Regions from separate parts of the Homo sapiens genome. Here regions 2, 3, 4, 5 and 6 are each linked to region 1. The links are contacts of gene promoters, found by promoter capture Hi-C in blood cells and fetal thymus (Javierre and others, 2016). All regions are on one chromosome and are shown on one strand. Each heading gives the region's core, a stretch centred on a gene start or on the middle of the fragment in contact. The rest is flanking DNA. Distances are from core to core; before and after follow the strand shown.

Region 1 (4,518 bases), core at 1,677-4,176:
AGTAGGTCTGGTCATCGTGGGGTTTGACGAGGGTGTCCCTGGAGCCGTAGTGCTCTTGGCGGGACTGATGCTGGTTGCAGGAGCGAGGCTAGTCACCTTAACCTGGAGATGTAGCACAGAGTACACAGTAGCCCAGCTTTTGCACAAAAGGGACTTAACTTTGGACTCTGGGAACCTCAGTGATGGATTTCAAACCAGCAAAGAGTCACTGTGGAGGAGGAGGAGGGAAGGATAGCAGAAAGACTGTGCAAAAAGGGGACCTGACAGAGCATCAGGTCCAGCATGTCCATCCTATGGATGAAGAAACTGGGGCCCAGAGAGGAGAGGGATGAGGATCAAAGAGCCAGCAGGTGGTCAAGGCAGAGACGAAACCTGCTCTCCCGATTTCCCAGGCCGGCACTCTTCCCCTGCTCCACACCGACCAGGCTCACGCACAATTGAGTAGGGGCTTCTGGGCTTGCACCCCACGCTGCTGCAGTGAAGGCCAAGAGGACCTGGGAAAGAACTTCAGACTGGAGGACAGTTTCAGAAAAGAGATGGGGGATGTGGCACTTTTATTTCCTAGAGAATATGATGAGGACATTGCGAACCCCTCCCCCAGTGAGACATAGCTTTGGCAGGGGGAGGCAAGTATGAGTTTTGAAGAAGGAGAAGTCCCAGGTTTGTGTCCTGTTTCTTAGTATCATCTAAGTGACAAGTCCCTATGGAGGGATAAGAATTTCCACCTCACAGAGAAAGAGGTGGAGGCTGGAGACACCCGCACTTTGGGGCAGATGGGAGGGCCCTGGCCTCTGACTCCCAGTGTCATGCAGGGAATGTAGTTGGTCTGCTGTGTCCCTCACCTCGGGGAGTTGGTCCCCATAATCTGTGAGCTCCTCATAGTTGCTCAGGTCAATGACTTCACCATAGTTGTCTGGGTTCAGGACATCATTCCGCAGAGGCAGAACTTCAAAGGAATCGCCTTCCCTGGGCATCTGCTCCTCTCTCCTCTTCCTCTCCTTCCTTGGGAGAGAAGCTGTCCCTGTCTCCTGCAGCACCAAGGCCAGCAGACTCAGGAAAGCCAGGAGCCTCATGGGGAGTCAGATGGGACTGAGAATCCCTTCAGCGGCTGGTCCTGGCAAGTGGGCACGAGGAAGGGCAGCGATCTGAGGGACAGGCTCTCCAGAGTGTTGTGGGAATGGCTCGCAGATTTACTCCACTTCCCACCCCCACACTTGCAGACTCAGTGCTCTCATCACATGCACAAATTCCCTACCAGCTGGGACTATGTCTTGGGGGGTATCTCCTAGCAGCCCCCTCCCTCCACCGCCCCACTTGAGTGTTTTTACACGCTCACCCAAACACTGATATTCACTCACAGAGGCATGTGCAGACACATCTCAACACAGACACATTCACAAGAGTCCCCTTGTTTACAAACGAGGCACACACTGGTGCATGCACACAGATGTCCTCTCTTAAACAACCCCATGCTCAGAACATGACTGCTAGTCACTAAGCTCGATTTAGAGAATGTCAACATCAAATAATCTTATGGGGTCTTTTTGTTTGTTTGTTTTTTTGAGACGAAGTTTCATTCTTGTTTCCCGGGCTGGAGTGCAGTGGTGCGATCTTGGCTCACTGCAACCTCCGCCTTCTGGGTTCAAGCGAATCTCCTGCCTCAGCCTCCTGAGTAGCTGGGATTACAGGCACCCACCATGCCTGGCTAATTTTTGTATTTTTAGTAGAGAAGGGGTTTCACCATATTGGCCAGGCTGGTGTCGAACTCCTGACCTTAGGTGATCCACCCACCCTGGCTTCCCAAAGTGCTGGAATTACAGGTGTGAGCCACCGCGCCCAGTTGACTCTTGTGGTTTTTTATAAAGATCATCCATTCATGCATTTGCTCAACAAACATTTATGGGTGTCTATTGAGTTCCAGGCACAGGACTTGTCTCTGTGGGTACAGAATGAATGAGGCACAGCCCTTCCTAGGAGCACCTAGTCTCTTTAGGAGACATGGACTTACAATGAAACATACAATGTAAAAAAGAATGTTAGTTTATGAAATATACTTCTAAATGCAGCTTTTTAGAAACAGATTATTACAGATAAAAGAGTTCTTTGTGTGTGATTGCATGAGTGTGTACGCATCTGGAAATTTCCTTAGATACCTGTGTATATTTGTGTGTGTGTGCACACAGATGCCTGCGTATGTATGTGATATGCATGTGAGTACAAATGTTCATGTAGTTCGTATATGTATAGACGGGTCAGGAAATGCATGTGGTGTGGTTTTGTATCCAGGCATAAGTGTATACAACAGTCATACCCAGTGTAGGCTTAACACAGCCCTCCCCAAAGCTAGCTGCACAAGTTTCTAGTAGACTCTCCCTCTTTCTTTCTTTTAAAATTTTTTTTATCTTTTAATTTTTATTTTATTTTCTATTTTTAAGACGGTGTCACTCTGTTGCCCAGCCTGGAGTGTTATGGCATGATCTCAGCTCACTGAAGCCTTAACCTCCTGGGCTCAGGCAGTCCTCCTGCCTCAGCCTCCCAAGTAGCTGGGACTACAGGCGTGTGTTACCATGCCCAGTTAACCTCCCCACCCTTTCTTAATTTTAGCTGGGCAAGGGGGCAAGCCTCTAGCAGTAGCAAGAGGTGTTTCTTCACCTTACCTCCCATACCTCACCCCAAACGAATTACATAATCTCAAAAAAAATTTTTCTAAGAGAGTTTAGTGCCCACCCAAAAGTCTTGTCCAACTTCTTTGGCCAGAGGCCTAAACTCTCTTCATTTTCCCTTCCCAATCCCCTGCCCCAGCCAAACACTTTGCCCTCATTTGCGCACCGATGGCCAGAGGCCTCAACCTTGAGCCTTACCCCTTCAATGCTTCTGGATCCTGGATGGAGAGCCCTGCAGCTTCCAGAAAGGTGGGGACTCTGGTGGAGGCTGTCTGAACTGGGGCTTGGGTTAGACAGTGGTGCCCGGGGGAGGGCAAGGAGTTGGCCAGGCCTGCGACCAATCAGACTTCTCATTCCTTCTGATGTCCAGCTGTTTCCCCTCCTCTTTCCTCAGGGGGTCCCCTGCCCCATTCCTGTATTTGACAAAAGAGAATTCTCCCCCCACCTTCCGCTTCACCCCCCACCTCCAGCTCCTGCTCTCTCTCCTCTTACTCTGTCAGCTCCTTCTTTCTTTTCCTTGTCCACTCTCCTGATAAGGCCACATCTTTGAGGAACAGGGAGTGCCATCCCCTGCAAGGAAGGGGCCCCATCCCTCAGATTCTGAGTCCTCAGAGAAGGCTGGAGTCGGGGGATATGGAGAGATAGAGCTTGTCTTTGCAGCTTCTTTCTCCAGCCAGAGAGTGACAAGGCTTCAGCTTCATAGCCAGAATCCAAAGATAAAAATAGGTGGAAATGAGGCACTTCACCCTCACCTAGAGCGCCAGCACAGAGACCATAATTGAATAAAATCACCAGAGACAGGAGCTGCAGGCCTAGGTAGTTCAAAGAGAAGGTGTATGGGGGATGAGATCGGATTTGAAAGCCAACTTCAAGTTCACAGATGATGATCATGAGGATACGGGAAATTCTCTAAATCTGCTAGGAGGAAACCAAATGGAAATTGGGAGGTGGGCCCTAGAAAGGATCATAAACACCAGTAGACATTGTGTAGGGTCTCGGGGGCCTGGGAAGTATCCTCTCCCGCACCCTCAGAGATGTACAGTCGTCCCTCAGTAACCATGGGGGATTGGTTCTGCACGTCCAGTGGATACCAAATCCACATATGCTGAGGTCTTTTATATAAAATGGTGAATTTGCACATAACCTACGCACATCCTCCTGTGTACTTCAAATCATCTCTAGATTACCTATAACACCAAACACAATGCTTACACCTCACTCCATTCACATGGATTCCACATAGTACTGGCACACAGCAAATTCAAGTTTTCCTTTTTGGAACGTTGTGAATTTTTTTTTTTTCTGAATATTTTCAATCTGTGGTTGGTTGAATCCACGGATGTGGAACCCACAGATACAGAGGGCCAACGGCATTCATCTGGAAACACTCCCCTTTCCTTGGTGCCTCGAGCAGGCTGCCGAGCAAGTCCTTGCTGAAGGCAGAGGTGGGGTGGCTAAGGAGTCTTCCCCAGCTTCTGCCAGCCTGTGCCCTGGCGCCCACCCAGGTTTCTCAGTGACTCTCCTTGTTCCCTACTCCTTTCCACCAACCAGATACTGAATTCCAGCTGTGAGGCCCCCTAAAGATCTAGTCCAAGTCCTTGTGGTATAGATGAGGAGAGTGAGGCCCAAAGAGGTGACGTGACTTGCCCTAGGTCACACAGAGCCAGGGCCAATGCCTAGATTTTTTGACTCCCTGGTCAGAGAGTTTTCTTTAGTTCATATGACCCTCCCCATTTCCACCTTCTTCCCCAGGAGTCCTGAATCCGTGTGTTTCCAGGCCCTCAGAGCAGATGGCTTGGCAGAACTCATCTCTGCCCTGGCACACCAGGTGAAGAGGCAGATCTAATAGCCTGGC
Region 2 (5,194 bases), core at 611-3,110, 130 kb before region 1:
CTAGCTCTTCAGCAAGCCAAGGCAGTGGCCCGAGACGCTCAGGGATCCTTCCACAGATGCCTGTGGCCCACCCCATCTGCCAAACACTCACCAGCCCCACAGTGTCCAGCCTCGACATCGGAAACTTTTCAATTCACCCTTCTCCTTCCTCCCCTTTGGGACCAGAGATGTGTGGGGCGGTGCCCTCGGAGACACTCATACAGTTGGTTCTGGACGCTCACACACACTCAAACAACAGCGGTACGAGGTAACTCCCAGCTTTTTCCACAGCTAATTATACATGTGAAAGTCTGAGGATGTTTTGCAAGCAGCACAGAGAAACTGCTGAGGTTTCTCTGCAAAGCTAAAGAAATTTAATTCGTGCACTCTCCTTCCCCACTCCTGCCAACTTCTCCCAGCCCACCTCCACCCCATGGCCCCAAAGTGCCCCTCTCCTAGTTCCCGCTGCAGCCCCTCTTTCTGCTGAAGATTTCTTTGGTTCCTTTTTTTTTTTTTTTTCCATCTCTCTTTTGGGCTTTCGAGAAAGGGAACAGACACGGAAAATATTTTTGCAACAGTTTTCCATCCTGCGTCTCATTCCCAAGCCAAGGGGGGAAGGGGAGGGCAGGAACGGAATGGGTTGAGGGAGGGGAGATAAATATTTTTTCCAAGAGCTCAATTTTGGTGTCAAAAAGAGAACCCTCCATTACCCTACCCCATAGCCCAGGAATGACAAGAACTAGGAAAAGAGAGATAAATCACTTGTTCGACTATATGGTTTCTCAGAACTGATAATAGGTAAAACAGTATTTGACAAATCTGTGCACACACACATATTTTAAAAAAAATCCTCCAAACCCAGTCGCATGAAATATTCTAGAAAGAGGAAAATCGGGGAGTTTTAGAAGCCATTGAGAGAAAAGAAAGAAACAAAGTTTGCAAATCACAAGTCAATTCATTCTCTGCAAGCCTACCTCTCTTTCTAGCAAAGATCCAGGTTTCTTCAGGCGGGACTCTCCCTCCGGGTTTCCATGGATGAGGGTAGGGTGGGGTGACCACCCACCAGTCTCCCCAGTGTGGCAACCAAGCTAGAGACGCTGGCTTTGCTCTCTTGCCTTTCTGGCTAAGGCCGGGGAGTGGGCTGGGTCTCCTCCCCCTGCCCCTCCAATGGGAAGGACCTCTCAGGTTCCTGAAAGAAAAAGGGTGCAGGAGAGCTGGGCGGGTGTCTCTGATCTTGCTCTCTTCGGAGGGATGGTGCCCCACGAAGTTCGTGCCCCCCCTCCCAGCCCCCAGCTTTGGACGATCTCAACAGCAGAGCTTTCTTAAGAAAATGCTTGTCATGGCAACAGCTCTAGCTAACTCGGGCCAGACTCTTGCTCACCAGCTCTCCCCAAGCAGTGCGGGAAGAGAGAGGGGAGGAGCAGGAGCTGGAACAGAGGTGGGACTTGGCGCGAGGCCAAACCATTACTCTACTGTTAAGGTGGCCCGATTCTTGCGGTTACTTCCTGGTTCGTCTTAAGGGGGAATGGGAAAAGAAAGGGAAGCAATCCTCTCCCCTGTCGGCTTTCTTCCCCGCCCTTGCTCTCACTTGTTGAATAGAAAGCTGAGTAGGGGTGGAGGAGGGGTGAGGGTGGAGGTGGGGAGTGGATGTGGGTGGCGGTATTCAACGGTTGCTGGGCGGAGGGGAAAAAAAAGGAAGCTTGGGCAGGCGGCTGGCTTCCTGCAGCTCCTACGGGCCTCTCAACCCCTTACTCACTTAGATCCAGGACCCAGAAACCCGAGGTGTCTGTGGACACTTGTATGTCCCCTCCTACCTTCCTGCTCCTGTCTGAATAGGGGGTTCCTTGGAGAAGGAGAATAAATTGTTTTGTAAACACACACACACACACACACACACACACACACACACACACACACACACCCGTCCTCCCCTACACCTTATATACAGGTCACATTTTGTTCCCTCTTGTCCCTGTACCCACCAGAGGTATACTGACAGTGCATGAAAATAGCTGCTTACTTTTGAGTCCTGCTATGCGTGGGCTATGACACCAAAAGCTTTGTCTATATGGTATCGTTTCTAGTCCTCATTTAATCTTGAAAGGTACTTATTATTAACCTCATTTCCTAGTTGAGGGAATTGAAGATTGAGTGTCTGGCCCAAGGTTATACATCCGGCTAATGACAGAGCCAACGATTCAAGACCAAGTCAGACAGACTCCAAAGCCCGAGTACTTTCCTGTACTTTGTATCATACTCCGGCACATATTTCCGTTTTAATTTGCACACACTCAGACATCCATGCACACTTATACACAGCCTGTAAACAGTTAATCACACCCCCATACCCACACACCCACTAGCATTGTGCAACAGTGCCACCCATAGATTTTGCATAGAACTTTATGGCTTTCAAGCACAAACATGCACCATCAGCTGGTTCACACAACATATCTTCATTGACTGACAGATTCCCACACCTACCTCAGCAAACACACTCATGTTTATATGCTTATGGAAGGCACATTGACATATGTCTCACAGGTTATAGCTATGAGCTATGCTGTGAAGAAGGTGACTGGCCACTACTTCCCAACCTTTTAAACAGAGGGTTGGGAAAAGGCCTCTTTGATCCTATCATTCTAACCCAACAGCTCACACCACCCCCTGTCCTTCTTTGCTGTCATCTCTGCCCCCAAGAAGCAGAGCCACATGTGCATGGAGAAACAGGGTTGTGAAACGGGGTCCAGTTTCCCCCGTGTCCAACTAGCACCCTTCCCAATGTTCTCTCATTTGGGTCCTCTTTTTCCTCTTCATTTTCTTACCCTGCTATTTCTTTTTTCTTTATGGTTTTTTTTTTTTTTTTTGAGACGGAGTCTTGCTCTGTTGCCCAGGCTGGAGTGCAGTGGCGTGATCTCGGCTCACTGCAAGCTCCGCCTCCGGGGTTCACGCCATTCTCCTGCCTCAGCCTCCCGAGTAGCTGGGACTACAGGCCCCTGCCACCACGCCCGGCTAATTTTGTTTTTGTATTTTTAGTAGAGACGGGGTTTCACCATGTTAGCCAGAATGGTCTCGATCTCCTGACCTCATGATCTGCCCGCCTCGGCCTCCCAAAGTGCTGGGATTACAGGCGTGAGCCCCCGCACCCGGCCAGTAATGTTTTTAGACTGGTTGGGCTGGGCTCAGAACTCAGAGTTCATCAATGTGAGGCTGGAGATTGCCTGCTGTCATCTGAAAACAAAATCCAAAATAAGCCCTGGCTAGGCACAGTGGCTCATCCGTGTAATTCCAGTACTTTGGGAGGCTGAGGAGGGAGGATCACTTGGGGCCAGATTTCAAGACCAGCCTGGGCAACATAGCAAGACCCACCCCATCTCTACAAAAAAATTAAAAACAAGAGAAAAAAAATAAGCCCCTGCCTGTGCTTGTGCCTCTCCCTGCCAGCAGCCGAAGAAAGTTGCAGGGGTAAGGGGAGATTTTAGGGTCACCCTCTATGGGAACTATGGATTGTTTGGTCTTTTTTGTCTAGTGATTGACTGTCTGACACTCAAGGCACTTACAGGACACTAAAGGTGACCTTTGTTCTCATTTCAGCCTCTTGCAACTCCTCTAGTCACTCCCACCTTCCCAGGGCATTTCAAGAACAGTTAGTACCTTGTTAGATTCCTTCCTTCCTCCCTCCCTCTTCCCTCCCTCTTCCATTCCCTCCCTCTTCCCTTCCCTCCCTCTTCCCTTCCCTCCTTTTTCCCTCCCCTTCCCTCCTTTTCCCTCCCCTTCCCTTCCCTTCCCTTCCTTTCTCCCTTTCTTTCCCCTTCCTTCCTTCCATCTCCCTTCCTTCCTTCCCTCCCTCTACCTTCCTTCCTTCCTCCCTCCCTCTTTCTTTCTTTCTTTCTTTCTTTCTTTCTTTCTTTCTTTCTTTCTTTCTTTCTTTCTTTCTTTCCTTCCTTCCTTCCTTCCTTCCTTCTTTCTTTCTTTCTTTCTCTCTTTCTTTCTCTTTCTTTCTTTTTCTCTTCCTTTTTTCCGTCCTTCCTTCCTCTCTTCCTTCCTCCCTCCCTTCCCTCCTCCCTTTCCTTCCTTCCTTCCTTCTTCCTTCCTTCTTTTTTTTCATTATGGGTCTCCCTGTGTTGCCCAAGTTGCTTTTAAACTCCTGACCTCAAGTGATCCTCTCGCCTCAGCCTTCCTAGAAACTGGGACTACGGGCACACCCTACAATGCACAGCACCCTTGTTAGATTTTGGTAGACCCTAGCAAAATATCAGCTTCAGGAGCCCAAATCAATTGTTGGGGAAGACATGAGAAAGAAAGGAAAAGAAATGAATCAGCTTAACAGAGCTGCAGATTTAATGGCTTGTCAGGCTCCCTGCTGGATGGCAACAACATGACATTTTAGCACCAATGAGTGTCAGTTGCATCTTTATCATAAGAAAGCCAGTCTCTGAAATGACTGTTTAAATGTATTAAAGTATATTTTAAGCTCGTCTGCAGTGGCTGTGTGTGGAGGCATTGCCTAACTGTTCAGTAAACTTGTCTTGGGGGAATGACAATTTAGGCCAGATGTATGGTCCCAATAAAGAAGAAGTCTGCTTTGGCTGCCTGTTTTGTGGGGACTGGGAAATGATACCCTTTCATAGCTGGTTATTATTGGAAAGGTAAGATCTTCCCCTCAAGCTCCCTGGATTCCAGGGAGACAGGCTCTGCCAGGGAGGTGCTGTCAAAAGAGGCTCTGATGGCTGTCCCACATCTGGCTGGCTAGGATTCAGGGGCAGGCCAGGTTTATGACTTCCAGGGTGGCTGTAGATCCTCCCCTTGACCGGCTGTGGGGTTGTGGGATGAGAAAAAAGGAATCCCCCTCCCACTCCATTCCCACCCCAGCTCTGCTGCAGACAGGAGGGAGGGATGTCGGGGGGTGGGTCAATGTGACCCCAGAGGAGCCGAGGGGACCATAGCCTGATCTCTGTCACTGAGCTGACCACTGAGGCCTGTGTTTTCTGGAAAGCTAGAAGCCTCAGTGCTTCGCTTCTTGCAGCGGCAGGTTTGAGGTCTAGAACGGGTAAAAATAAATCTATCCATAAAAATAACCACTAGATGTGGGAAAATGGAGTTGGCCCCCCTGGGGCAAGAAGGAGGACACTGCCTCTGGCATCAGAAGTTCATAGTCTGCCTGTTCTGCTCAGCTCTGAGCAGTCCTGTTTCCCTCTTCTCCCTGCTGTACTCT
Region 3 (4,555 bases), core at 1,935-4,434, 250 kb before region 1:
TAAAGTCATTTTTTAAAAGCTATAGCTGACCTGGAAGCCAATAACATTTTTTCTTTTTCTTTTTCTTTTTTTTTTGAGATGGAGTCTCACTCTGTCTCCCAGTCTGGGGTGCAGTGATGCAATCTCAGCTCACTGCAATCTCTGCCTCCTGGGTTCAAGCAATCCTCCAGCCTCAGCCTCCCAAGTACCTGAGACTATAGGCATGTGCCACCACGCCTGGCTAATTTTTTTTTTTAGTAGAAACAGGGTTTCACCATGTTGGCCAGGCTGGTCTCGAACTCCTGACCTCAAGTGATGTACCCGCCTCGGCCTCCCAAAGAACTAGGATTACAGGTGTGAGCCACCGTGCCTGGCCCAAAAACGTTTTAAAAATGTGCTATTTTTGTTGAACGCCTGTCGACCCTAAATTATCTCTCAGGAGTTCCTTTCTGATCTTCAAAATGTAATTTGAAAATGATGTACTTTAATGATCTCCTTGTACACATGGGAAATCAAGCTGGTCAAGAAGCAGAGTTGAGGTCAGGGCATGTGTCTCCTGCCTTCCAATCAGCTGCACATCAGAATCTTACTCTAATTTTGCCATTTTAGCTCCTCGATCAAAGAGTAAGCAGAGAAACATTTAAACGCCTTCCTTTCCTACCCGGTCAGCAGCAGCAGCTCAATTCAAAAGGTTTGATAGGAAAGATGTAGGAATTCTCTCTTTTTTTTTTTTTTTCGGAAAGAGAGTCTTGCTGTGTTGCCCAGGCTGGAGTGCAGTGGCATGATCTCGGCTCACTGCAACCTCCACCTCTCACGTTCAAGTGATTCTGCTGCCTCAGCCTCCTGAGTAGTTGGGATTACAGGTGCCTGTCACCACGACTGGCTAAGTTTTTGTATTTTTAGTAGATACAGGGTATTGCCATGTTGCCCAGGCTGGTTTTGAACTCCTGAGCTCAGGCAATCTGCCTGCCTTGGCCTCCCAAAGTGCTGGGATTACAGGCATGAGCCACTGCGCCCAGCAGGAATTTTTTATTTTTATTTTTATTATTTATTTATTTATTTATTTATTGAGACAGGATCTATCTTTGTAACCCAGGCTGGAGTGCAGTTGTGCAATCTCAGCTCACTGCAACCTCCGCCTCCTGGGTTCAAGTGATCCTCTCACCTCAGCCTTCAGAGAAGCTGGGATTACAGGCATGAGCCACCATGCCCAGCTAATTTTTGTAAGTTTAGTAGAGATGAGGTTTCACCATGTTGGCCAGGCTGGTCAGATGCAGGAATTCTTGACTTAAATAAAGGGTTTTGGATGATCATGGATATATTTGTTCTTCTCTTAAGCATGGTTAAAGGCAATCTGTAGGTACCAGTCCAGCTCTTCCCAGCCTTACTCCCTCTTTCAAATGAGTTATCATATATACTTGCTTTAAATAGGTGAAGACATGAAGATCTGGAGTTATAAAACACAAATCAGTCTTTCAATGCAGTCTTCCTGGGTCTAGCATAGCAAGAAAGCTTAAATCAATTGTGCTGTGTTTGGAAAAAGAATGTGCTAAAAGGAGATGGTCTATATGTCCTCTGTTATAGGAGACACCAGAGAAATCAAGTGATGCTTAAGCTTGAACACAGGGCCCAGTTCTATTCTAAAGTAGAGACAGGCCAGGCATGGTGGCTCATGCCTGTAATCCCAACATTTGGGAGGCTGAGGTGGGAGGATAGTTTGGGGCCAGGTGATTGACTCCAGCTTGAACAACATAGTAAGACTCCATCTCTTAAAAAAAATTACAGGCATGGTGGTGCATGCCTGTAGTCTCAGCTACTTGGAAGGCTAAGATGGAAGGATAACTTGAGCCGAGTCTAAGGCTGCAGTAAGCCTTGGTCATGCCACTGCTCTCCAGCCTGGGTGACAGAGCAAGACCCTGTCTCAAAAACAAAAAAAGGAGTAGGGACAGATATATGCCCTGTGAGTGTAATGGCACTAGCCACTCAGACAGTTCTATTATTTCCCCTTTGCGTAGAGTTCATGAGCAGAAGTTAAATTTCTGATTGTAATCTGGCTATCCAAATATGTAGATTATTTCAATTCTTTTTTTTTTTTTTTTTTGAGATGGAGCCTTGCTCTGTCACCTATGTTGGAAGGCTGGAGTGCAGTGGCGTGATCTTGGCTCACTACAACCTCCGCCTCCTGGGTTCAAGGGATTCTTCTGCTTCAGCCTCCCGGGTAGCTGGTATTACAGGTGCACACCACCACGCTCAGCTAATTTTTGTATTTTTAGTAGAGACAGGGTTTCACCATGTTGGCCAGACTGGTCTTGAACTTCTGACCTCAGGTGATCCGCCCACCTCAGCCTCCCAAAGTGCTGGGATTACAGGCATGAACCACTGCCTTCCGAGCTAGCATTCTTGTTTTGCCACCAGCCTTTTAGAAGGCAGCGGGAGGCCATTCTAAAGAGACTGATCTCTGTTTTGTGCATGTCTTCTGAGGACAGGGAGATGATGCTGGGCCAGGAAAGTATTATTTGAAAAGAGTCAGAGAAGTAAAGACTTGTTTATGATTGGTTGTACATCAGGACATAGGCAAGCCCAGAACCCAGAAGCTGCTACCTTTCAAGCTGAAAGCTTTCTGTCTATGAATCTAATAGGTCAGTACCTCTCATGGCTTAGGTTCATGGTGGAGGTAACTGGATGTTAATGATCCTGCACAGAAATGGTAACATGTTTACATGTATTATTTACAACAAAGCTTCACAATTATTTGTTGGTGAAGGACATGCCATTCTCATTCTCCTTCCTGCTTGTAGTGACAAGAAGGCCACGCTTTAACAAACCCAGGTCAGGGGCTGGTAAATATCTCACTGGAACCCAAGGAGTCATCTTCTTTGGATTCACCACAGAGTAGGTCAGGGAGTTGCCTGGTCATGTGTATACTTTGGGGGAACCAGGTGGGCTTGGTAGAGAGCTTCAAACTGATGACCGCAGGGAGACGATATGGACTAGTGGAGAAAGGGGAGACTCACAAACCATTACTGAAGATGGAGGGCAGGCTGGGCGTGGTGGCTTATGCCTGTAATCCCAGCACTTTGCGGGGGCCAAGGCAGGCGGATCACCTGAGGTCAGGAGTTCGAGACCAGCCTGGCTAACATGGTGAAACCCCGTTTCTTCTAAAAATACAAAAAATTAGCCGGGCATGGTGGCGCACGCCTGTAATCCCAGCTACTCGTGAGGCTGAAGCAGGAGAACTGCTTGAACCCTGGAGGCAGAGGTTGTAGTGAGCCGAGATCACACCATTGCACTCCCACTTGGGCAACAAGAGTGAAACTCCATCTCAAAAAAAAAAAAGAAAAAGAAAAGATGGAAGGCAAAGCTATTATTCTTTTCTAGAACTGGGGTAAGGGAAAAGAATGGAAGAACAGAGTATGCTCTTTTCCATACAGTGACCTAGGTCCAAGTTGCTGAGCTGGCCTTTACATTCTCTTGAGCCAACACCTTAGGATATAGTGGTCTCTGCCAGAATGATACGTAGGAGGTTCATTCTTCACCATTCCTTACCATATCCTGGGGTTAAGAGACGTGGATCCTTAAGATCCTCTGTTTGGCATGGCAGAGAGGCACAGATCTATGGTCCAACAAACACAAAGTGGGGGTGAGAGAAGAAATAGAGGGCCAAGCTTTAGAAAGGACCGTATAGGGGTTCATATGTGTTACATCCTTTTCAGCAAGAGTATTTAGGAGGGAAACTACAATGGAAAAAGCAGACTTTCTTTTCTTTCTTTTTTTTTTGAGACGGAGTCTTGCTCTGTTGCAAGGCTGGAGTGCAATGGCGCGATCTCGGCTCACTGTAATCTCTGCCTCCTGGGTTCAAGCAATTCTCCTTCCTCAGCCTCCCGAGTAGCTGGGACTACAGGCGCATGGCACCATGCCCAGATAATTTTTGTATTTTTAGTAGAGATGGGGTTTCACCATGTTGGCCAGGATGGTCTCGATCTCTTGAGTTTGTGATCCACCCACCTCGGCCTCCCAAAGTGCTGAGATTACAGGCGTGAGCCACTGTGCCCAGCCTATTTTCATTTTTGTTTGTTAAGTTCATTATTTATTCTCCATCCCCTATTTTAAAGAAACTAAGTGGGCAATGTGTTCAATGCCTGTGGAGAGCAACCTAGGACAGAAAAGAAAAGTGGGGATAAGATCTCAGATCATTTAAGTCTTTTTCTTTTCTTTTCTGAGATGGAGTTTCACTCTTGTTGCCTAGGCTGGAGTGCAATGGTGTGACTTCGGTTCACCACAACCTCTACCTCCCAGGTTCAAGTGATTCTCCTGCCTCAGCCTCCTGAATAGTTGGGATAACAGGCATGCACCACCACGCCCGGCTGATTTTTGTATTTTTGTTTGTTTGTTTTGTTTTTTTTGAGACGGAGTCTTGCTCTGTTGTCCAGGCTGGAGTGCAGTGGCATGATCTCGGCTCACAGCAAGCTCCGCCTCCCAGGTTCACGCCATTCTCTTGCCTCAGCCTCCCGAGTAGCTGGGACTACAGGCACCTGCCACCACGCCCGGCTAGTTTTTTGTATTTTTTAGTAGAGAT
Region 4 (4,608 bases), core at 1,400-3,899, 220 kb after region 1:
TGGCCAGGGGCCAGGGCTGTCCCCACTCCCATCTGGTCCTGGCGGTCTGCCCTTGAGGCTGGGGCAATATGAGGAGTGTGTAGGCAAGTCCAAGGCTATGACTCCCATCATGTCTCCAGGCTCCAGGCGTCTTCTTAGGTTGCCTGCCTGGTAACAACTGTAGTCAGTGTCTCACACAGGCCCCAAAGCTCAGCTAAGTCTCCTCACCTGGGAAAAGGCTTCCTTCATGGGCCCACTCCTCCCTGATTCTCTTGTGTGCCTGAGATCTTTTAACAATAGTTCCCATCACTGGGCAGTGAGTAGATGCCTCATACAGGGAAACCCCTCACTGCTGTACCATGATGATTACAGGACAAGGACTTGGAGCCAGATAGACCGGGATCTGATCCCAGTTCAGCCAATTACTATCTGTCACCTTGGGCAAGCTGCTTAACTTCTCTGAACCTCAGTTTCCAAATCTGTCAGTCAGGATAATAGTTCTTATGGCCTGGGGTTGTGCAGGAATGGAATGGGATAATGCATGGACTCCACGGAGTAAATCGTTTGTGTGATAGTGGCATTATTTCTTCTTTAAATGTCACTGTGACTTACTCTACTACCCTGAGGTCTGGTTCAGAAGTTCTGGTAAGAAGTTACAGGGTGATCCTGTGAGTTTGCATAGAGAAAGCACTCAGACACGGGCTGCAGGAACTGTGGCCACATTTGAGAGCACTTGAGCTACTGCCACACACTTCAGAATATCTGGAGGCAGGAACAGAGAAGGGGAGGTTGTGCATAGTATATTCCAGGCTCTGTGCTAGATCCTTTGCATCGGAGGCTTCAGTTAATACAAATTGTTTGTTGTAAGATAGCATTATCTCCAAGCCTAGAGAGGCCATGAGACTTGCCCGAGGCCAGAATCTAGTGTGGTAGAAGCTGCTAGTCTCCAATAACTTTCTACTATTTTATCAGGGTAAGAAAAGTTGTAGCAGGAAACATGGCTGCCCAGAATGAAGACTGCATTTCCCAGTCTCCTGTGTGGGTAGGCGTGGTCACATGACTGAGTTCTGGCCAAAGAGAAGTAAGTAGACGCGTTATGCAGCAGTGTCTGGGAACCTTTCTTAAGACACAGGTTGTGCATCTGCTGTCTGCTCCTTCTTCTTTGTCCCTCCCTCTGTTTTGCTACTTGGTAGGCAGGTGCTACCTTGTACCATGAGGGCAAGGGCCACTCAATAACAACACAATTGCTGCTGTTGTGAATTTTCTGTTACTCTCATTTCTACCTCATCTTAACTGAGATGCCCTGTGATAGAGTGGGGGATTTGAACCTGAGTCAGTCAGCTGTTTCTCAACACAATGCGAGGTTTCTGGGTCCCCTGTGTGCTCCTGCTGTACCTCATCAGCTCTTAGGTGTGAAGCATCCCTTAGAACTCTGATGAGGTGGCGTTGAAGGAGGGGAGCCACTCTAATGCAGCTTTTCGAACTCATCCATTCCAAAGATGGCTCAGGGCCTTTGCTAGATCCAGAGGCAGCTTGAGGGCGAAAGTCCAGGGCCCTGAGAGGGTGGAAGAGGTGACACTTCTAAGATCCAGGAAACCCCAGCCTCTGCCACAAGACTGGCTGCACAGCTACCCCTGTGGCAGGTGAAGGCAGTGCTCAGGTAGTCCTGGGACTCTTTCTAAACTTCTCTGGCCTGGCCCTCAATGTCCTCTGACAGACTCTAGCTTGCTGGGACACCTCTAAGGAAACTGCCAAGGGAACTGCAGAAGCAGGAGCAGGTGAGAAGTGCCCGGGTGTCTTCTTTCCATGGGGGAATTTGGAGAAGCATTCTGAGCCCAGCAAAGTGTCAGGCAGGCAAGGTAAGGCCTCACCTGATAGGAGGTGTATCCTCGTACCTAGTCTCAGCAAGGAAGGTTGCCAGCTTCATGGCTCTTTTGAGTTAAAAGGGCTGTAAGATCCTTGGTAAACGACCAGAGCCTGAATGTCACAGGGAAGAGGTTGGACTGGGACCCAATACAGCTGCCTATGTATCTGAGAAGACGCTATTTATAAACAGAGAAGGTATTTATTGGCTGGACAATCCTGAGGAAGTCTCCCACTTCTCACTCTCATTCATAAAGTGGGGATCATGATCACTACCTCTCAAGCTTACTGTAACATTGAATGAGGTAATGAATATGAAAACACTCAAAATCTATAAAGTATCTACAAACCTGGAAGATTATAATTCTGCATTTGTACAGTAGAAATAACAGTACCATGGTTGCTATTAGTGCCCAGCCAAATCCCCTTTACTGGTCTGGTGCAACCCTCCATCCCTGCCCACCGGCTGCTGTGAGGTTTGGCTGGTAACAGTTCACAGTTATTCCCTCTGCAGAGACTTCCCCGGGAATGGAAGCTGCCTTACTTGGGGCTTGCAGCCGATGCTTGTCTGACACAGGGGCAGGAAAGGCCAGTCCCCGACCTCAAGACAAGATGAACTCTGGTGTAGCACATGCTTCAGGGATCCCCATGAAATCAGGCCGCAGCTCAGCCACAGCTGACACCACAGCCTGGCTCCCTCCTTCCCCACCCCACTCTCCTTCCTTTTCTTTCTTCTGAGGGTTCTTCCCCAACAGAAGAAGATATGCATGAAATCTGTCCCAGGCTCTGCTTTTAAGGAATCTGGTCCACTTGTCTGCCGTACAAAGTTGCTATGAGGGTTAAATAATATAATACAGATGAAGAGATTAGCCCAGTGCCTGGCATATACAGTGCATATCCAATTAATGTTAAAGATTGCCATTATCCATGAGACTGGAGCATCAGGAACATCTTAGTGTAATAGTGAGGTGTGGAAATCTGGTGAGTGAGTCAGTGGATTGAATTTTACATGCTTAGGGACTGGGGTGGGCAGAGAGAAGGGCAGCTGGGTTTCCTTGGGTATCACTGGTTGTCTCAGCTTTGGGCAGTGAGGGTCCTTTACACAGCTAGGGAAAAGTTCCAGTCATTACATACTTCTACCAGCAGAGGACGCCACTTCCATACAAATAAGTGTTTCCTCTGCTATCTGATGCAGTTTTCATCAAAGCAGTCTAGGCTGGCAGGAAAGATCAGGTACATGACAGAGCAGAAAGTGCCTTCAGATTTGCACAGATAATAGGAGAGGGCAGAACAGGAAGAAACAGTGAGTTAAGCTGTTCAGGAAGCTTCGTGGGAGGTGAGGCCTTGAGCAGGGCACTCTAGCACCAGAAGGAGTATTGAGTGGAGATGGCATTCCCAGGGAAGCCACTACCCTAGGCAAGGTGACCAGGGCCTGAGCCAGGGCCGTGGCAGGGAGGCAGCCACGAGAGGGTATGAAGGACACCAAACACAGGGACAGGACTGATTTCAGCTGAGAGGTCTAGGAGGAGATCATGGGCCCACCAACATGGGGTAGACGTCAGGAAGGAGCACGTTTTTATAGGACAGAGCACACTTCTCCAACTGGTTTGACTGCCCTGTTACAATGTCCTCTGCAAGCCATCATTCTGTAGGATTCCTGTTTTGTGTGGATTCTAGAAACCAGTGAAATATTCAGAGGTGTTAATAGCATCAAGATTTCATTGGTTCTTTCCATTCTTTTTATTTTTATTTTTTGAGATGGGGTCTCAGTCCCTGCCCCAGGCTGGAGTGCAGTGGCACCATCACAGCTCACCACAGCCTCAACACCCCAGGGCTCAGGCGATCCTCCTGCCTCAGCCTCCTGAGTAGCTGAGACCATAGGTACGTACCACCATGCCTGGCTAATTTTACATATATACACATATATGTGTGTATATATAATTATATACGTATATATACACATATATACATATATAATTATATACATATATACATATATACACACACATATATGTGTATATATATACACACATATATATGTATATATACACATATGTATATGTGTGTGTGTGTGTGTGTATATATATATATATATATATATATATATATATTTGAAGAGACAGGGTCTCCTTACGTTGTCCAGACTGATCTTGAACTCCTGGGCTCAAGCGATCCTCCTGTCTCAGTCTCCCAAAGTGCTGGGATTACAGACGTGAGCCACCGCGCCTGGCCAGCTTTTTCCGTTTTGAGTAGAGACGGCAAGAAGCGCCCCACAGCTTGCCCTTGCTTCGGAACTCGGGGTTGTGAATCAGTCAGGATAGAAATTAATGGTGCAGTGGGAATAAAGAGGAATGTTAGATGATCTCGCAGGGGTGGGGGAGAACCCAAAAAGAAAGAACGAACGTGAAGAAGCCTAGCTCTCCGAGACTGGGGTTCAGTCCTTGCTGGAGAAAGTGCGTTGCAGCCCATTGAGGGCAGAAGAGTTCTCTGGGTTGTCCCTGGACAGAACCGGGCCACAGTCAAGAGAGCGAACATTGTGGGGAAGAGAACGGCAGGCCACGGCTCAGGGGCTGGAAGCCCCCTGCTGGGGTGCCCACAAAATTCCTCCGGAAGTTGCTGTTGGGGGATGCGCTGAACTCATGGCAAAGCCACCTAGGACTCACGCAGAACTTGCTGGGAAGCTGCCCCCGGGGAAGTGCGCATGCGGGACTTCGCAGGAAACTGGCTGGGTCAAGTCGGCTCCACCAGGAATCCACCCAAGACGGT
Region 5 (5,022 bases), core at 2,298-4,797, 240 kb after region 1:
TTCTGCTAGCTTCAAACTTTTCTTCTGCAGCTTCCTGACCTCTCTCAGCCTTCCTCCATAGTACAGAAGAGAGTTAGCCTTGTTCTGAATTAGGCTTTGGCTTTGGGAATGTCGTGGCTGGTTTGATCTATCCAGACCACTCAAACTTTCTCCACATCAGCAATAAAGTGGTTTTGCTTTATGTGTTCACTGGAGTAGCACTTTTAATTTTCTTCAAGAAATTTTTCTTTGCATTTAAAACTTGGCTGTTTGGTACAAGAGGACCAGCCTTTAGCCCATCTCAGCCTTTGACGTGTCTTCCTCACTAACCTTAATCATTTCTAGCATTTTATTTAAAGCAAGAGACATATGACTCTTCCTTTCACTAGAACACTTAGAGGCTATTATTGTAAGATTATCAATTGGCCTAATTTCAATGTTTTCATGTCTCAGGGAATAGGGAGGCCCGAGGAAAAGAGAGACGGGGAATAGCCATTTGGTGGAGGAGTGAGAACACACACAAGATGGATCAATTAAGTTTGCTGTCTTTTCATGGCACCCCAAAACAATTACAATAGTAACATCAAAGATCACTGATCACAGATCACAATAACAGATATGCTACTATTAATAATAAAGTTTGAAATGTTTTAAGAATTATCAAAATGTGACACAGAGACACAAAGTAAGCATGTGCTATTGGAAAAATGGTGCCAAAAGATTTGCTTGACACAGGGTTGCCACAAGCCTTCAATTTGTATAAAATGTAATATCTGTGAAGCACAATAAAATAAAGTGCAATAAAATGAGATATGCCTGTGTTGGAAGAAAAAACCTGCCAACTAAGAATGCTAGATCCAACAAAACTGTCCTTCAAAAACAAAGATGAAATTACAACTTTCCCAAATAAATAAAATTTGAGGGAGTTTATCACCACTAGTCCTGACCTACAAGAAATGCTGAAGGGAGTCCCTGAAGTTGAGGTAAAGGGACAAAATGCAATTCAAAAAAAAAAAAAGAAAATATTAAATTCTCTGGTAAATATATAGATAAATATAGAATCTTGTAGTATTGTAATGTGTGTAAATCTCTTCTAAATCTCATAGAATTCAAAAAACAAAAGCATAGAAAGTAATTATAAATCTATGGTAATGGATATGCAATATAAAAAAGGTAATTTGAGTCATCAGTAACATAAAGGTGGGGTGGACTGAGATGTAAAGAAGCAGAGTTTTAGATGCAATTGAAGCTAAGTTGTTATCAGCTTAAAATAGATTGTTATGATATTACCCATATTCTTCCAGTCTTCTGCCAAAAGATCTGAATCTACAATTGTCCCAGTGGTACTGAATTACTTATCTGATGATTAAGAATGAAAGAGCCGTTTTCTTTGCAGTCCAAAGGCAAACTTCTGTAGGGAATTCTAGCTAGGGAAAGTGTTATACCCTCTTCTTATTAGTTTCCCCCAGGGAGGAAAGAGTGTGTCTATGGAGAAATCTAATTACAATTTTCTTTGCCCTTTTTGAAATACAAAGGGACAGATTTTCCCCTAATTTATCTATGGAGACACACCTATGTAAGAGAACAGGCAAACAAGTAAGCAAGCAAGCAGTTTTTCTGAATTAAGGGGCTTTAATCAGGAAACCACCACATGGTACTCATTAAAAGTAGATTGTTAAAACATTAAGAGGTTATGTTTCACGTAATTGCAATGGTTACCACAAAGACAGTAACTATAGAATGTAAGTGCTATGATTTGAATATGGTTTATCCCCCACTGAAATTCATGTTAAGGCTTGTTCCCCATGTAATGGTGTTGAGAACTGGTGGGACCTTTAAGAGGCATTTGGGTCATAAGCCATCTGTCCTTATGAAGGGATTAATGCCATTTCACAGGAGTGAATTATTGCTCTTCAGTGACTGGATTAGTTACCGCAAGAGTGGGTTGTTATAAAGTGAGGTCACCCCTCATGTTTTCTCTCTTGTGTGTGTACCCGCTCAGTGCTCTCACATGCATAACCACCATGTGATGCCATCCTCCATGTTATGACACAGCATGAGACCCTCGTCAGATGCAGCTGTTTGATCTTGAACTTCCCAGCATCAAGAACTGTGAGCTAAACAAACCTCTTTTTAAAAAATAAATTACCTGGTCTCAAGTATTCTGTTACAGCAACAGAAAATGGACAAAGACTGTAAAGGAAAGGAAGTGAGAAGGGAATCAAAATCTGTGGCCACAAAAAAAAATTAATGAAACACAAAAGAAATTATCAAAAGAAAAAAGGGGGGGGGGACAAAGAAAGCTACAAGTGAAACAGAACACAATGAACAAAATGGCAACAGTAAGTCCTTCACTATCAGCAATTTCTTAAAATGTAAATGCCATTATGAGCAATTATATGCCAACAATTGGATTTGGCAATAATTTCTTGGATATGATACCAAAAGCACAGGCAACAAAATAAAAAATAGACAAATAGTACTACATAAAACTTAAGTTTTTTTACACATCAAAGTAACAGTCAACAGAGAGAAAAGGCAACCTATGGAATGGGAGAAAAGAGTTGCAAGTCATATATCTGATAAGGGGTCAATATCCAGAATATATAAGGATCTTGTACAACTTAACAACAAGAAAAACCCCAAATAATCCAATTTAAAAACTGGCAAAGGATTTAAATAGACATTTCTCCAAAGAAGATATATGAATGGTTATTAAGTACATGAAAATATGCTCAACATCATTAATCACTAGGGAAATGTAAATAAAACTCACAATGAGATATCACCTCACACCCATCAGGATAGCCATTATAAAAATAACAGGAAATAACAAGTGTTGACAAGGATGCAGAGAAGTTTGGGTCCTCATGCACTGGTGGTGGGAAAGTAAATTATACAGATGTTATGAAAAACAGTATGGAGTTTCTCAAAACATTAAAAATAGAACTATCATATGATCCAGCAATCCCCCTTTTGGGTATATAGCCAAAAAGCTTCAAAGCAGATCTCAGAGATATTTGCACACCCATGTTCATTGCAGGATTATTCACAATAGCCAACAGGAGGAAATAACAGGTAATTGGATAAGAAAATGTGGTATATGCACATAATGGAATTTTATGTGCCCTTAAAAAAGGGCATGTTACAACATGAATGAAGCTTAAGGACATTATGCTAAGTGAAATAAGCCAGTCACAAATGGACAAATACTGTATAATTCACTCATATAAAGTATCTAAATAAGTCAGAATCCTCAAAACATAAAGTAAAAAGGTAGTCGCCAAGAACTTGCGGGAGGTGGGATGGGGAATTCATGTTTGGTAGGTATAGAGTTTCAGTGTTGCAAGAAGAAAAATTTCTAGAGACTTGTTGCACAAGTGAATATACTTAACAGTACTGAAATGTACATTTAAAAATGTTTAGGATGGTTTAATGTTGTGTGGTTTTTACCACAATACAAAAAAAAAGACTCAGCTAAGAAAACGAACAGGCAAAACCAAAGGCTGGTAGAAAACATTCACAGTACATATATCTGAATATGGATTTCTATCCAGAATAATAAAGAACTTCTAACACAATAAAAATGTGGATGACAGACTTGAGCAACATTTTCAGAAGCAAACAAAGACATATGAATGGACAAAGACATATAAAAAAAGTGCTCGACATCATTACTCAGCAGGCAAAGGCAAATTAAAGCCATAATGAATCACTACATGCCTACTAGAATGTCTAAAATTATAAAGACTGTCAACACCACATGTTGGCAAGCATTTGACATAACAAAAACTCTCACGTTGCTCTTGGATGTGTGAAATGGCACAATTACTTTGAAAAGTTGCTTGCTTGGTAGCTTCTTATTAAACATAAAGCTAGCTGATGACTCTAATTTTACACCTGTGTATTTATTCAAAGTAAATGAAAACATATGTCCACGAAGAGACGTATACATAACTGTTCATAGAAGCTTTGCATTTCTGATAGCCAAAACTGGAAATAACCCAATGTTTATGAAGTGGGATATATTCATAAAATACAATACTTCTTGCAATTAAAAGAAACAGACTACTGATAACAACAAAATGGATGAGTCTCAAAAACTTTATGCTGACTGAAACAAGCCAACATTAAAGAGCTCTCGGTGGCCAAAGCTGGAAAAATTTGAGCAGCAAAATAAATAATGTACTAATAGTATTTGATTATAACTCAAAACATAAATAAATATCTATGAGTCCATATGGATATAAATAAATGATATAGTAAATAAATGGGAGAGAAGGGACAAATGTCCCATACAGAATTATATAATAAAGGTATGTAGTTGCTTCTTCCCCAAGGAAGTGGAGCTTAACTCCTCACCCCTAGAGTGTGGGCTGCACTTACTGACTCGCTTCCAAAGAGTAGAATAGGGAAGCCAGGTGGAGAAGTAGAAACCTGGCAAATAGTATCCCGGCCTGGTAATCAAGATTAAAAAGATCAGTTATGTGGATAATACCTACCTTTTAGTTTTAGTTTTTTGAGACAAGGTCTCACTCTGTCACCAGGCTGGAGTGCAGTGGTAAGATTTCTGTTCACTGCAACCTCTGCCTCCTGGGTTCAAGCGATTCTCCTGCTTCAGCCTCCCAAGTGGCTGGGATTACACGTGCATGCCACCATGCCTGGCTAATTTTTGTATTTTTAGTAGAGACAGGGTTTCACCGTGTTTGCCAGGCTGGTCTCCAACTCTTGACCTCAAGTGATCTGCTTGCCTTGGCCTCCCAAAGTACTGGGATTACAGGCGTGAGCCACCACACCCAGCCTGGGGTGAGATTTTTATTCTATTCTTTAGAAGAATTTGAGAAAGTTTGGCATTTGGTAGAATTTGCCTATGAATCCACTTGGCCAGGCTGGTCTCGAACTCCTGACCTCAAGTGATCCCCCCAACCTTGGCCTTCTAAAGTACTAGGATTGCATGTGTGAGTCATTGCATCCAGCAGATAATACCTACATTTTTAATGAGATGTAATGAGGATGGCACTTCACCTCTGTGGTTTACCTCCC
Region 6 (5,149 bases), core at 570-3,069, 240 kb before region 1:
TTGTCTGAGCTATCCCTTCCCTGGGCTGAAGTAGGTAGGCTCCCTGAGAATGGAGCTCAAGAACCCAGTGGCCAAGCCCACTATCGAGAATGCTACTAAGTGCATTAATGCATTAGAGATCTGAAATGTCTGGCAGAAATGCTGACAGTAACTCGGCAATTAGACTGAGGGAGGGGGAGGAAGAGGTTTTGGTTGGTGGTGGTTGAAACAGCTACAGGTCGAGGCTTACACAAGTAGCCTCTGGTTTTCAGTGCCCTGTTCCTCAGAGACAGAGGCAATTAATGCCATTCATTTTCTTCCTTCCTTCCTTTTTTTTTTTTTTTTTTTGACACCCAGGCTGGAGTGCAAGGTGCGATCTCGGCTCACTGCAAGCTCCGCCTCCCGGGTTCACGCCATTCTCCTGCCTCAGCCTCCTGAGTAGCTGGGACTACAGGCACCCGCCACCAGGCTGGCTAATTTTTTATATTTTAAGTAGTGACAGGGTTTCACTGTGTTAGCCAGGATGGTCTCAATCTCCTGACCTCGTGATCCGCCGGTCTTGGCCTCCCAAAGTGCTGGGATTACAGGCGTGAGCCACTGTGCCCAGCTTCCTTCCTTCCTTCCTCCCTCCTTCCTTTTTTTTTTTTTTTTTTTTTGAGACAGAGTCTCGCTCTGTCACCCAGGCTGGAGTGCAATGGCACGATCTTGGCTCACTGCAACCTCCATCTGCTGGGTTCAAGCCATTCTCCTGCCTCAGCCTCCTGAGTAGCAGGGACTACACGTACCTGCCACCATGCCCAGCTAATTTTTTTATTTTTAGTAGAGACAGAGTTTCACCATGCTGGCCAGGCTGGTCTCGAACTCCTGACCTTGTGATTTGCCTTCCTCAGCCTCCCAAAGTGCTGGGATTAAGGTGTGAGCCACCGCGCCCGGCCATGCCATTCATTTTCTGACAATGGTCCTGATCTAGGGCCTCAATCAACTCTACCATCCTTATCCCTGACCCCTAAGTAACAAGGACAAAATCAAAAGGAATTCCCTTTAGCCTTCATGAATCTGGTAGAATAATCTTAGAAATATCTATCTGCTTAATGCCAAGGGTTAATCTACCAGGAATGAAGGAAAGGTGCTGATTCCATTAACTGGACTTCATTTTCCCAGGAGGGAAGATGGGAAAGTAGGCAGAATGTGAGTGAGACAGTCCTTTTATAAAGCTTCCTGAGAAGCCATGAGCTGTTTAGGGCTAGTTTCTGGATCCAGATCACAGTTTGAGCAGAAACATCACTGCTTCCTCACATTATTCAGTTTTAGTTCCCTGGGACTGAGGAGCTTGAACCTGCAGGAGGAGAGGGTTTACACTTGGGGTGGGTGCGGGGGTTCCAGCTCCATGGAAGAAGGGACTGTAGAGACACCTTCTTCAGTGCTTATTGGAGTTACAAGGTCCCAACCTCCACAATTCTAGTCTCTAAGTTTTCTAACACCTCCCATACCAAAGCACTGCGATGAGAATGACAACAAAGATCAACGTGGAGGTGGCAGGGGGTTTTGTTAGAACCCAGCTGAGGCTGAAGGGCTGATGTTGGGAGCGGACCTCAGGGATCCAGGATACACGTTAGCATCATTAGCCTCATCAGCTTCCAGAGTCAGGTGCATCCTGGATGGCGTGAATTTGGTCACTGTGGCATCTTGAACATGCCTCACTTTAGGCTTTAATGCCATTTTGGCCCAACTGCCTCATGCTCCAACAATGCGGAAAGGTAGTATACCTAAAGCTATGTAGGCAGTGAAACCAAAAAGACCTTGTAGAGAGGGGCATAGTCAAGGAAATAGAAATTGGTAGTGGAGGGCAAGGAAGACCCATAAATCTCAGCCTCCCAGGACAGAAGACTGGAAAGGAGCAAGGAGGTACTGGACTGAGGGAATCTTGGCTAGGAGAAAAGAAATCACATAGTAGAAGTGGTTGATCCTGAAGAAAAACAAAGCAAAGACAGGTTATTTTGGAAAGAGCAGACCCAAAGGAAAGCACTGGGGGCTTTAGAGATGGGAGCCAAAGGCGCCAGGTTCTATGGGTACTTGGAGTCAGCAGCCTGGAGTGTGGGGTGGGGTAGGGAGTGAGCGTGGGGATTCTGGATGCCTGGATGCCACGAGGCACTTTGTGTAGGTCCCGCTGGAAATTTTCTTTCTGAGAGGAGGAACTTGAGAGAGGGAAAAGGAACCCTAGCGTTTCCCTACCTAGCCCTTTTCCACTTTTCTTTTTCTTCTTTTTTTTTTTTTTAATTCAGCTCTTCATATAACATCCCTTGTAAAAACAAAAGAATAAAAACAAACCAAAAAAGAGGGGCAGGGTAAATTTTTTTTTAAAAAAAGGAAAGGAAAGAGAGGAAAAGGAAATAAAATAAGACGATTTATTGTTTCTCCTCAGCATCCTCCTTGGTCTCCTCCTTCACTGAGAGACCTTCAAGCTTTTCTGCCACTTTTTCGGCATGATTGTTTTTGCCTGATCCTGGCCAAGCCGTCTCCTGGAGTTTCTCTTCTTGAAACTCAATGACCAAAGGAAGCCAAGTGGATGCATCCAAGCACCACCTAGACCATGGTCAGGCTGCTCAGTGACATCTGGTCACTTGCCACCACAGCTGCAGTCCAGCCTCACAGCAGAGGGGACCAAGCCCTCTGAGAGACAAACCAAGGACCACTGTAAAGCACCTTCTGGTGAGCTCCAGGCAGTGCCCGGACTCCAATGCCTGCCCAATTGGATGTGAGGCCAGCAACACGGAGAAGTGCTCAGGGCTCCCCAGGAAGCACCTGTGTCCCCAGGGAGCTGCATCGCCCTGGATAGGTGAGGCAGCCACAGCACCCTGGAATGTTTCTCTGGCAGACAGAAAAAGCACCTGCCTGGAAGTACAGTCAGGTGCATAGTGAGTCTGCAATCCACTTTTCTTCTTCTTTTTTTTTTTTTTTTTTGAGACAGAGTCTTGCCTTGTTGCCCAGGCTGGTGTGTAATGGCGCGATCTCAGCTCACTGCAACCTCAGCCTTCCGGGTTCAAGCGATTCTCCTGCCTCAGCCTCCAGAGTAGCTGGGATTACAGGCGCCCACCACCACGTCCAGCTAATTTTTGTATTTTTGGCAGAGCCAAGGTTTCACTATGTTGGCCAGGCTGGTCTCGAACTCCTGACTTTATGATCTGCCAGCCTCGGCCTCCCAAAGTGCTGGGATTACAGGCGTGAGCCACCGCACCCGGCCTCTTTTCCACTTTTCTATTTGTTGTCTTGCCTATAGGGGATAAGTTCCTACCAGGTATATAGTTTAGAATATTCACTCCATCTATCTCTCCTATACACTAACGAGGTGGGATTGACTGGGGAACTTCTTTTCTTTCTCTTTTTTTTTTGAGACAACTCTCAATCTGTCACCCAGGCTGGAGTGCAATGGTGTGGTCTCAGCTCACTGCAACCTCCGCCTCCTGGGTTCAAGCGATTTTCCTGCCTCAGCCTCCCAAGTAGCTGGGACTACAGGCATGTGCCACCATGCCTGGCTTGTATTTTTAGTAGAGACGGGGTTTCACCTAAGGCAGGGGATCCACCTGCCTTGGCCTCCCAAAGTGCTGGATTACAGGTGAGAACCACCGCGCCCAGTCTTTTTTTTTTTGTGAGACAGAGTTTAGCTCTCGTTGGCCAGGCTGGAGTGCAATGGCGCAATCTCAGCTCACTACAACCTCTGCCTCCCGGGTTCAAGTAATTCTTCTGCCTCAGCCTCCCGAGTAGCTGGGATTACAGGCATGTGCCACTACGCCCGGCTAATTTTGGATTTTTAGTAGAGACGCGGTTTCTCCATGTTGGTCAGGCTGGTCTTGAACTCCCGACCTCAGGTGATCCACCCACCTTGGCCTCCCAAAGTGCTGGGATTACAGGCGTGAGCCACCATGCCTGGCCGACTGGGGAACTTTCTAAAACATTTGCAAGGCCAGTTTTAGACAGTGAAACTTATTTTGAAGATCTCTAGCCAATCAGCAGAGAGAAATACGCCTGTTTTCTGGAGACCACCCTTGAGATCTTGGAATTTACAGTGTTTTTGAAATGGAAAATCTCAGGATTAAAACAATAAAGCTATGGGGGGTGAGAGCAGGGGAAGACAGAATTATCAATGCTTAGATCAGCGCATTCACCCAGGAGAAAGTAGTTACAATTGATGCATGGAAAGTGGAAAAAATAAAAGTTATTGTGGGGCTATAGACAGGGGACATAAGAGCAGCAGGGGTGGCTTCTATCCCATTTCAGAAATTGCAAGAAGGGAAGAGGCTTGAAGAAATTATTGCTTCCTCCTTGTCAGGAAGCAAGTCTGAATCCTGCAAAAGATGCTCAGACATCAAGAGACTATTGTCATTTTTACACATGAAACCATCAGATTCCCCACCATGGCCTTACACTTTGAATGGGGGAGATATAACAAGGTGAGTTTCTTTTACAAAGACCCTTCCAGATAGCATCTATTCCTATAATGGCAGTGTGAGGAAGCTATATTAAGTGAATGCTGGGTATGTTGGCATATTGATATTGTCTAACTCCTTCCTTCTGAAGGGTAGGGAAAAACTGAGCATTTCCCACCCTGGGGTCAGGTCTAGTGCTTGCAAGAGACCTTATGCTGAAGCTTGCCCATTTGATAGAGGGTGGCAGGCTGGGCTTTAGGGTCAACCCAGAGCTAAAGGACTATGCTAATAGTGTCCCATGGTCTAGGTCATTTGACTCCTCTCCTCTCAGAGGACCCCACACAGATCCTTTTGCGTGTCTGTCCTGAAGCTGAGGATCTAGGGCTGCCCATCAGTAGTGAGCCTTTGGAAGGGAAGAGATGCTGGCCGACAAGAACTGCTACCCTCCCAACACCTTCCAAGATGGGAAGCTGCTTCTCCCAAGGGAAGGACAGACCACTATCAGAGTACCTGAGTCTGGATACGGTTCAGGCCCCGGAACCAGAGGATCTGGCCTCGGCGCAGCTCCATCTCAGCATGGTCAATCTCATCCAGTCCCTCGGCATCCTTGGTGATCTCCTCTTTGGTGGTGCCATGCCCAGCCTCCTTCAGGAACTTCAGGGATCGGGTAGGTATTGCGGAGATGAACTGAAAACAAGCGCAGCGAAGAGGAAGACGTCAGAATCAGCGTGAGAAGAGCTGTCAGT

What was found. The method cuts DNA at HindIII sites, captures the fragments that hold promoters and counts their contacts. A CHiCAGO score of 5 or more calls a contact.
Region 2: a fragment that was not itself captured here is called in contact with the fragment with the promoter of OPTC in region 1 in 4 of 17 cell types (M0 macrophages, endothelial precursors, M2 macrophages and 1 more); the score reaches 8.6 in M0 macrophages.
Region 3: a contact is called between a fragment that was not itself captured here and the fragment with the promoter of OPTC in region 1, in 4 of 17 cell types (M0 macrophages, M2 macrophages, M1 macrophages and 1 more). The highest score is 6.7, in M0 macrophages.
Region 4: a contact is called between a fragment that was not itself captured here and the fragment with the promoter of OPTC in region 1, in 15 of 17 cell types (naive CD4 T cells, naive B cells, total CD8 T cells and 12 more). The highest score is 26.3, in naive CD4 T cells.
Region 5: a contact is called between a fragment that was not itself captured here and the fragment with the promoter of OPTC in region 1, in 10 of 17 cell types (naive B cells, naive CD4 T cells, activated CD4 T cells and 7 more). The highest score is 9.1, in naive B cells.
Region 6: a contact is called between a fragment that was not itself captured here and the fragment with the promoter of OPTC in region 1, in 2 of 17 cell types (M0 macrophages and endothelial precursors). The highest score is 6.9, in M0 macrophages.

What each region holds. Positions count from the first base shown.
Region 1 is chr1:203,492,561-203,497,078 of GRCh38, reverse strand. It overlaps OPTC (opticin), which reads right to left and starts at 2,926. Exons shown (of 8, transcript NM_014359.4): 1 at 2,862-2,926; 2 at 843-1,114; 3 at 1-102. The coding sequence starts at 1,073. RefSeq lists a silencer at 3,205-3,433. The HindIII fragment of the contact is 16,129 bases long and covers 1-4,518 here.
Region 2 is chr1:203,622,979-203,628,172 of GRCh38, reverse strand. It overlaps ATP2B4 (ATPase plasma membrane Ca2+ transporting 4), which reads right to left and starts at 1,341. Exons shown (of 21, transcript NM_001684.5): 1 at 954-1,341. RefSeq lists enhancers at 600-1,472, 1,473-2,347. The HindIII fragment of the contact is 359 bases long and covers 1,681-2,039 here.
Region 3 is chr1:203,745,528-203,750,082 of GRCh38, reverse strand. No RefSeq gene overlaps it. Among named protein-coding and RNA genes, the nearest start is that of LINC00260, 17 kb to the right of the region's middle. The HindIII fragment of the contact is 925 bases long and covers 2,722-3,646 here.
Region 4 is chr1:203,267,633-203,272,240 of GRCh38, reverse strand. It overlaps LOC124904486 (a long non-coding RNA gene), which reads left to right. Exons shown (of 2, transcript XR_007066798.1): 2 at 1-4,608. Among named protein-coding and RNA genes, the nearest start is that of LINC01353, 17 kb to the left of the region's middle. The HindIII fragment of the contact is 1,041 bases long and covers 2,129-3,169 here.
Region 5 is chr1:203,249,770-203,254,791 of GRCh38, reverse strand. No RefSeq gene overlaps it. Among named protein-coding and RNA genes, the nearest start is that of CHIT1, 23 kb to the right of the region's middle. The HindIII fragment of the contact is 808 bases long and covers 3,144-3,951 here.
Region 6 is chr1:203,727,336-203,732,484 of GRCh38, reverse strand. It overlaps ATP2B4 (ATPase plasma membrane Ca2+ transporting 4), which reads right to left. Exons shown (of 21, transcript NM_001684.5): 20 at 4,914-5,090. SNORA77 (small nucleolar RNA, H/ACA box 77) reads right to left here and starts at 2,904; the gene lies at 2,780-2,904. It overlaps LINC00260 (long intergenic non-protein coding RNA 260), which reads right to left and starts at 1,908. Exons shown (of 1, transcript NR_046213.1): 1 at 632-1,908. The HindIII fragment of the contact is 1,248 bases long and covers 1,196-2,443 here.